Regions from separate parts of the Homo sapiens genome. Here region 2 is linked to region 1. The links are contacts of gene promoters, found by promoter capture Hi-C in human tissues and cell types (Jung and others, 2019). All regions are on one chromosome and are shown on one strand. The core of a region is centred on a gene start or on the middle of the fragment in contact, and the rest is flanking DNA. Distances in the headings are between cores, read along the strand shown.

The links. Contacts are between HindIII fragments. The study calls those that stand out against the background at their distance.
Region 2: a contact is called between a fragment that was not itself captured here and the fragment with the promoter of AURKB in region 1, in 1 of the 25 tissues and cell types used here (pancreas).

Annotation. Positions count from the first base shown.
Region 1 is chr17:8,208,793-8,212,821 of GRCh38, reverse strand. AURKB (aurora kinase B) reads left to right here and starts at 2,247. Exons shown (of 9, transcript NM_004217.4): 1 at 2,247-2,292; 2 at 2,573-2,645. The coding sequence starts at 2,598. RefSeq lists enhancers at 2,745-2,794, 2,356-3,015. The HindIII fragment of the contact is 18,109 bases long and covers 1-4,029 here.
Region 2 is chr17:7,000,083-7,004,111 of GRCh38, reverse strand. It overlaps ALOX12 (arachidonate 12-lipoxygenase, 12S type), which reads right to left. Exons shown (of 14, transcript NM_000697.3): 7 at 3,633-3,776; 8 at 2,301-2,510. The region is part of intron 2 of ALOX12-AS1 (ALOX12 antisense RNA 1); the gene reads left to right. Among named protein-coding and RNA genes, the nearest start is that of ALOX12, 6.0 kb to the right of the region's middle. The HindIII fragment of the contact is 2,751 bases long and covers 795-3,545 here.

The DNA.
Region 1 (4,029 bases), core at 998-3,497:
TCACCACAGCCTTGACCTCCGGCCTCTGCTGATCCTCCTGCCTCAGCCTATCAAGTAGCTTGGACTAGAGGCACACACTACCATACTGGCTAATTTTTTTTTTTTTTATTTGTAGAGACGGGGTTTCACAGGTTGCCCAGGCTGATCTTAAACTCCTGGGCTCAAGTGATACAGCCGCCTTAGCCTCCCAAAGTGCTGGGATTACAGGCGTGAGCCGCCAAGCCTAGCCATGGTTTGTTTTTTCTACACAATATGCTTAAACAGCAAATAGCATTTAGAATGCATTCAGAAAGGATATTAGCTGAATAATAATCTTCTCTATTGTTCATGTAAGAAAAGTGCTAACGTAGGCATGTAGAGGCTCAACAATGTCATCAAGTCCTGAAGTTCTTTCCAGGCCTCTCTTCTGCCTTCTGCAATGTTAGGCTTCAATGTCAAGCTGCTTCCTTCAGTAGCACTAGAAGCAGCAATGAGGGCTGCATGCTTCCCTGCTCACTTCCAGAAATCTCTTCCTCCATACCTTGCCCTATACATCTTTTCATCTATATCATTTGTAATACACTTTATGATAAACCAGTAAACGTTAAGTGTTTCCTTGAGCTGCCCAGCATTCTGAGCAAGAAACTGATTCCCACTAGCTGGCCCACTTAAATCACAGGCTTATGCCTGATCCAATAACCATAATCTGGAATAAAAGGTATTGATTAGTATAAGTTAATTGGGGCTCATTTCTGGACCTGCAATGAAGTCAGTTTCCTTCTCAAATCCTCAAAACTCTAAGTGCTTTCAGAAGTGGGAATAAAGCTGGGCGCAGTGGCTCACGCCTGTAATCCAAGCACTTTGGGAGACCAAGGCGGGCGGATCACCTGAGGCCAGCCTGAGCAATGTGATGAAACCCCGTCTCTACTAAAAATACAAAAATTAGCCGGGCGTGGTCACATGCACCTATAATCCTAGGTACTCGGGAGGCTGAGACAGGAGAATCAGTTGCACCCTGGAGGAGGAGGTTGTGGTGAGCTGAGATTGTGCCATTGCACTCCAGCCTGGGCAACACAGCGAATCTTCATCTCAAAAAAAAAAAAAAAAGTGAGATTTAAATAGGTCTTCATCAACCTAGGGATTTGGGGTTGTCAGCAACAGAAACTACTACAGAAACCGACTGCATAGACTGGAGAGACAGGTGGTCCCCTAAAGGAAAAATAGAGTGTTAGAAGAAAGGAGAAGAGTGCTGGACAGTACATACTTAATAAATATCCACTGGTTATTTCATAGAAGGCCCAAAAATGTATTTATTTAACCCAGTAATGAAATCTGAGGGTTAGGAAGAGCAGAAAAGAAGGAAGTGTGGCAGGAAGGAGGAAAAATGAAAGTGGGCCCAAACAACACGGCAGCTAACAGAGATCTTGCAACGAAAGGTCTATTGGTGGAAAAACTCCTCCCAGGAATGTCAGAACTTTTAAGAACGACATAGTAATGACACAAGAATAAACACACAGGCAAATGAGCAAACAACGGAATACAAAGTCTAGAAATAGACACAAGTAAATATGCTAACATTATATATCAAGGGCAGCATTTAAATTCTGTTGGGGCAGTTTGTTTAACAAATGGTGTTGACATAACTGGCGCTCCATCGGGCAGAGAAGTTAGACCCCAGCTCATACATGCATAAGGATAAACTCCAGTTACATTAAAGATTTAATTTTTTTTATAAAAAGAAGAAGGCCGGGCACGGTGGCTCACGCCTGTAATCCCAGCATTTTGGGAAGCCGAGGCGGGTGGATCACCTGAGGACAGGAGTTCGAGACCAGATTGGCCAACACAGCGAAAACCCGTCTCTAATAAAAATACAAAAATTAGCCAGGCGTGGTGGCGGGCGCTTGTAATCCCAGCTACTCGGGTGGCTGAGGCACGAGAATCGCTTGAACCCGGGAGGCAGAGGTTGCAGCAAGCCCAGATAGCACCATTATACTCCAGCCTGAGCGACAGAGAGAGACCTGTCTCAAAAAAGGAAAAAAAAAAAGAAAAGAAAAAGCAAGATAATTCACTGGGGGAATTTGGGGAAACTTTCCTAAACTGGAAGCCAAGCGTGAGCCCTTCTCATTCCGCCTCTTCCATTGGGTTCCCATGACTTACGTCACAGGACATCGAGCCAATGGGAACTAGGCATGGGCGACGAGCTTGCCCAATGGGGCCGGGGCGGGAGATTTGAAAAGTCCTTGGCCAGGGCGCGGCGTGGCAGATTCAGTTGTTTGCGGGCGGCCGGGAGAGTAGCAGTGCCTTGGACCCCAGGTGAGCTGGCCTCCTGTCGCAGGCCTTGCGCCGGGAGTGGGCAGATGATCAGGTAGATCAGAGGGTCCGTTGGGCTGGCCTGCGCGCACGCCGCAGGGCTGGAAGGAGGTAGGGACGATAGCAGGGCGGGGGCGGTGAGACCAGCGCCCAGATTGGGGCTAGTGTGCTGACCTGCTCCCTTTTACCAGCTCGGGCTAGCGCTTCCGGCTCGATCGGTCCAACCCCTCCCTCTCTCTCTCTTTTTCTCTGCTTCTCACGGCTGTTTCCCTTCTCCGCCCAGCTCTCCTCCCCCTTTCTCTCTAAGGATGGCCCAGAAGGAGAACTCCTACCCCTGGCCCTACGGCCGACAGACGGTAAGGCCCTTCCCTCCGTCCCTGCGCCCCCATGACCCCGCATGGCGAGTTCCTGCTGGGAAACTTGAGATCCTGCAATGAGCAATCCTTTAAGCACTTTCTTCCCCGTTATGCTCCAAAGTACGGGTCCCAAGTTTGACGACAGAACCCGCTCTGGTCATTTGTAGCCACATCCTGTCAGGTGCTGCCAACGTGAATCTGACCAGCCAGTGACTCCCAGCTGGTGAGGACCTCTGCAGGGCTCGTCACATACAAATGATATCTGGGACTGAGCAGGCAGGGCCTGGCCTTCAGGCCATGATTCCCAATCCATATCCTGAAAAAAAAAAAACTAGACAGCAAATAGAAATAGACTCTAAAAGGATATAAAGTTACAGTTTAAAAGGCCCAGGGCAAGTCTAAATTACAATTTGGAATTAATGACTAAATTGAGGTAAGAATCTAAATGGATCTAAATTGACTTATTTCCCAATGGTCCAGACAGATTTCATTGAAGGGCCTCCTCTCTGATTTGAAATGCCACCTTTATTATATATATAAATTCCCACATATATGTGGGTCTATTTCTGGACTGTATTTTATTCAACTTGCTTATTTGTAGATTGGTACCAATATCACTATTTGGGGCCTAGGGGCTTTCTTCTCTTGGCTGCAGAAGAAGGAAGGGGCCCTGCACAGGCTTTGCTCCCTGTTTTTGGAGCTCTTGCTTCCTGGAGAGTCTGTCTGTTCCCTTGTACATCAGCTCCCTCCCTCATGGAGCACTGAGTGAGGCTGTCAGGAATGGAGTCTGAATGAGAAACCATTGTCACTTTTACCTTAGTCACTCCTAAAAGAAAATGTACCTATTATTTTGAGAGTTGAAAGTGAGGCCAGGTAGGTGGCTCACGCCTGTAATCCCAGCACTGGGAGGCTGAGGCAGGTGGATCACCTGAGGTCAGGAGTTCGAGACCAGCCTGGCCAACATGGTAAAACCCCGTCTCTACTAAAAATACAAAAATTAGCCAGGCATGTGCCTGTAATCCCACCTACTCAGGAGGCCGAGGCAGGAGAATTGCCTGAACCTGGGAGGTGGAGGTTGCAGTGAGCCGAGATGGCACCATTGCACTCCAGCCTGGGTAATAGAGCGAGACTCCATCTCAAAAAAAAAAAAAAATGAAGAAGTTGAAAGTGAGAAGTGGTCCAGGGCCATCAGGGTAGCTCTTAGTGTCCTTAAAGCCTGTTCTTGCAAAAGTGTAAATCCTGGTTATTGCTATAACATTCAAGGCCTCAAGCATCTTATCTAAGCCTTAATAAACTAAGCTTTTTAGGAGACTTTGAGAATACCTCTGTGCTAAACCCCTTGAATTGTGGGTGTTCATTGACGCAGCTCTCTACTGTGGTGTAA
Region 2 (4,029 bases), core at 921-3,420, 1.2 Mb after region 1:
TTTAATTTAATATTAAATTAAAATTTTAATTTTAATAAATTAAAATTTATTAAATTAAAAATATTAAAATATTTTCCTTAGCTATTAAAAAAGGCATGGTCCTTACATGCGTTTCTTTTTATCTTAGACTGTTTGTCTTCCTTTCCACATAGTTAACATGCAGGTTTCAAGCAGTTTTGGTGCTTGTCTGAATTGTTGATGCTGGACACTGGCAATGACCCCAATGACACCTTTGGTGTTAAGATACCAAAGCAGCTCACATTAACCTGAAGCTTTTCAGAAGATTCATGAAAGATGCCAAATGTCACGGAAAGGCCAAAGTCCACATGAGGAGAAAGGATGCCTAAGGATAAACAGTCCTTAATAATAATAATTGCAAGAACTAGCTGGGTGTGGCGGCATGTGCCTGCAATCCAGGTTACTTGGGAGACTGAGGCAGGAGGATCGCTTGAGCCCAGGAATTTGAGACTAGCTTGGGCCACATAGTGAAACCCTGTCTCTACAAAAAATAAAAAAAATTAGCCAGGCATGGTGGTGCACACCTGTAGTCCCAGCTACTCTGAAGGCTGAGGTTAGAGGATCGCTTCAGCCCAGGAGTTTGAAGCTGCAGTGAGTTATGATTACGCCACTGGACTCCAGCCTGGGTGACAGAGTGAGAACTTGTCTCTGAAAAAAAAAAATTTGCAAGAACTAATGTTTTTTGTAGCATTTAGCTTGTGTCACACCATTAAGTCATTTTAACCTTTAATAACCTCACGATGGAACATGTGAGGACATCTGGAAATTATTGAGGCCGGGGTTCAGGACTAAGACCCCAGCAATCCAAAGTCAGAGCCTGCATAGGCCACTGTTAAGACATGTGCAGGCTTGACCCTTGTGTGCATCTGCCAGCAACTCAGCTGTCCGCTGGGGCATGGCATTACTGTGGTGAGTGGAGACACGGAGAGGACTGAACTAGGAAACGGAATTGTAAGTGTGAATAGAGGCTTCACTTGTTCGTGTGGAGCAGAGGATGGGGAAGCAGGAGACAGCATGAGATGAATGAAATCCAAGATTCCATTCATCAGACTGGTCTCCATCTTGTCTATGTTACCGAAGGGGAAAATTCCAGAGGCGGCACAGCTATACTGGCCAGGCTTGGGGGGTCTTGGTGGAGGCCCCCAGCTGAAACACAATTTGGTTGTTTTTACCCAGGACATACTTGCATATCTTGCCAATACATCAAACTCCATGTACCTAAAACCAAACACCTCATTTTTGCTGACTCTGGTTTCTTCTAACTTTACTGTTTCTGACAATTACTCTGGTTTGTAAGCTTGTATCATTTTTGTGCTCCCTCTGCCAAGTTCCCTGTATATAAAGTATCATCAAGATTTTAAGAACATTTTCTTAAGCAAGCACAGGTCTTATTTTGCCTTCTCCCAGCAATATATATGGAACTCACTGTTTTATAAAATTACAGTATTTCTTTCTTTCTTTCTTTTTATTTAGAGACCGGGACTTGCTGTGTTGCCCAGGCTGGTCTTGAACTCCTGGTCTTAAGCAATCATACTGCTTTGGCCACCCAAAGCACTGGGATTACAGGCGTGAACCACCACACCCAGCTCTTAAAACCACAGTATTTCTAGGTCAGTATAACACACCTGCCCCAGGGACTTACAGGTGTGGCAGAAGCTTGGACTTCTGGCTTTTCTCTCTCTTGCACCCAGGCACGCTGCAGCTACCATTTCCTCCCTTCACTACGTTTTAGATTCTTTCCTTTTCATTCCTGTCATTACCATGCTAACATACATCTCTATCCACCTTACTGTTGGGCAGGTATGAGCGGCTTGCTGGCTGTTCTTCCTTGCCTTTTGGTCTGTTTCTACTTAGCTGACTCCTCAATTGGGTAGAAACATTCTTCATCAATACTATACTGTTATAGGCTGTCCCTTGTGATTTCAAACTCTAGTACCAGATACTGTTCTCTGGTTGGTTCTTATGGGCATCACTTGTTTTTCTGGCTAAATACTAGATCTAAGGTAGGAATATGGCTTTTGTTTTACTAGCAGTGTTCAAGCCCTACTGTGAGCGCACTGCTAGACTGTCAGATCTCTGAGAATTTCAGAGGATTCCTATATAATGTTAAGTGACTAAACTTAATAAACTTAATTAAAATCAACATCTCAAGATATTGAGACAGTCTCCTCTTCACTCACAAATTGCTACAAAGAGTTTTTGCTGCTGCAATATCTTTTGATATGGGGCTGTTCCTCTCTCTGGGGTCTGAGGGATATGTGATTTAATAGATTAATAAGTACCTTGAAGATGGGGTGCAGTCCTGGGAGGCACCGCATGGTGGCGACAGCGATGACCTCAGCCACCAGGTGAGTGTTCAGCAAGTGATACTGGATCTCGTGCAGTTGGAAATCTGAATTTCGGACCCAGGACTTTGCCAGGAGCCAGGCAAGTGGGGGGTCTGAGGGCAGGAACAGTGTTGGGGTTGGAGAGCTGGGGTTGGGAGGCTGAATCTGGGAGAAAGAGAAATTATTGAACTCCCATTCCGTATATGACATTATAGTCAGCATTCTTGGGGAAACAGAGATGACTAAGTAAGATTATTGCCTTCTAGGAGGTTATAGTCTAGCAGGAGGACTGTGAACCCTCCCAGCCTGCCGCTCGCTAGCTGGAGTGCCCTGATGTCAGGTGGAAGGCAGGAGGGACTGGAAGAAGGGGGTCCAGAAGGAGGCCCTAACAGTGGTGTGGGAGAAACCTGCTGCTTTGGGGTCGGCGCTCAGATGGTGGTGGAATGTGAAGGAGAAGTAGGAGGTGTAAGATTATTGACAGTTCTTGTCACCTGACTGTTAAGAATAGTGAGAGAAGGCCAGGTGCAGTGGCTCACACCTGTAATCCCAGCACTTTGGGAGGCCGAGGCAGGCAGATTACTTGAGCCCAGAAGTTCAAGACCAGCCTGGGCAATATGGCGAAACCCCATCTCTACAAAAAATACAAAAATTAGCCAGGCCCACATGGTGGCACATGCCTGTGGTCCCAGCTACTGGAGGGACTGAGGTGGGAGAATTGCTTGAACCCAGGAGGCGCAGGTTGCAGTGAGCCAAGATCACACAACTGTATTCCAGCCTGAGTGACACAGTGAGATTCTGTCTCAAAAAAAAAAAAGAAATTGCGAGAAAAGATATTCAAGAGATGGCGAGGGTTCAGAGCCAGAGGCCACTGAGAGATGAGATAGTGATTCTGAAAGTGTAGTCCTGAACTGGTAGTGTCAGCATCACTTTGGAACTTATAAAAACGCAAACTCTTAGTTCCCACCCCAGACATACTGAATCAGAAAGTCTGGTCATGGGATCCAGAAATCTGCATTTCAACAGGCATTCAGGTGATTCTGATGCACACTGAAGTGTGAGGACCATTGGATACAGGATGAGAACTCCAGGAGGCCATTTTGACTCTTGAAAAAGTAATTCTAGTTGGATGAGGCAGGGGAGACGAGGGTACAGGCAAATAGTGACATGAAGACAAGTCTCACTGAGTGAGGATGGGGTTTGGGAGCCAAGAGCTGGGGGTTGGGTCCCTGGGAGCAGAGGTTGAGGTGAACAGAGTGCAACGTTGTGGGAGAGGTCTGGGGCCCTTACCTGGATGACCATGGGCTGCAGCTTCCCATTGGGCTCCATCTTCAGCATAACGAGGGGGGCAGCCAGGTATTGCTTCTCTCCTCGGATCACGTTGGCTGGAATTCCATCCAGAAGGATGAAGTCAGCTTCAAACAGGGAACCATTCTGGGGACAGGAGGGATGTATCCATTTTTAGAGTTCAAAGTCTACCCCCAGGGGGCCGGGGCAAAGGGCAAGAGATTTAGTCTAGCTTCTTGCCATTCTCCTGCATCAGTACCGGAGCCCTGTTGGGAGAACTAGAGCCCCTGGTCCAGTTCCTCTCATCTTAAAGTGAAGAAACAGTCTGGTGAGGGTAGATGTCTTGTGTGTGGATGTGGTGGCAGATCTGGGTTTGGAACCAGGCCTGCTCAATCCAGTT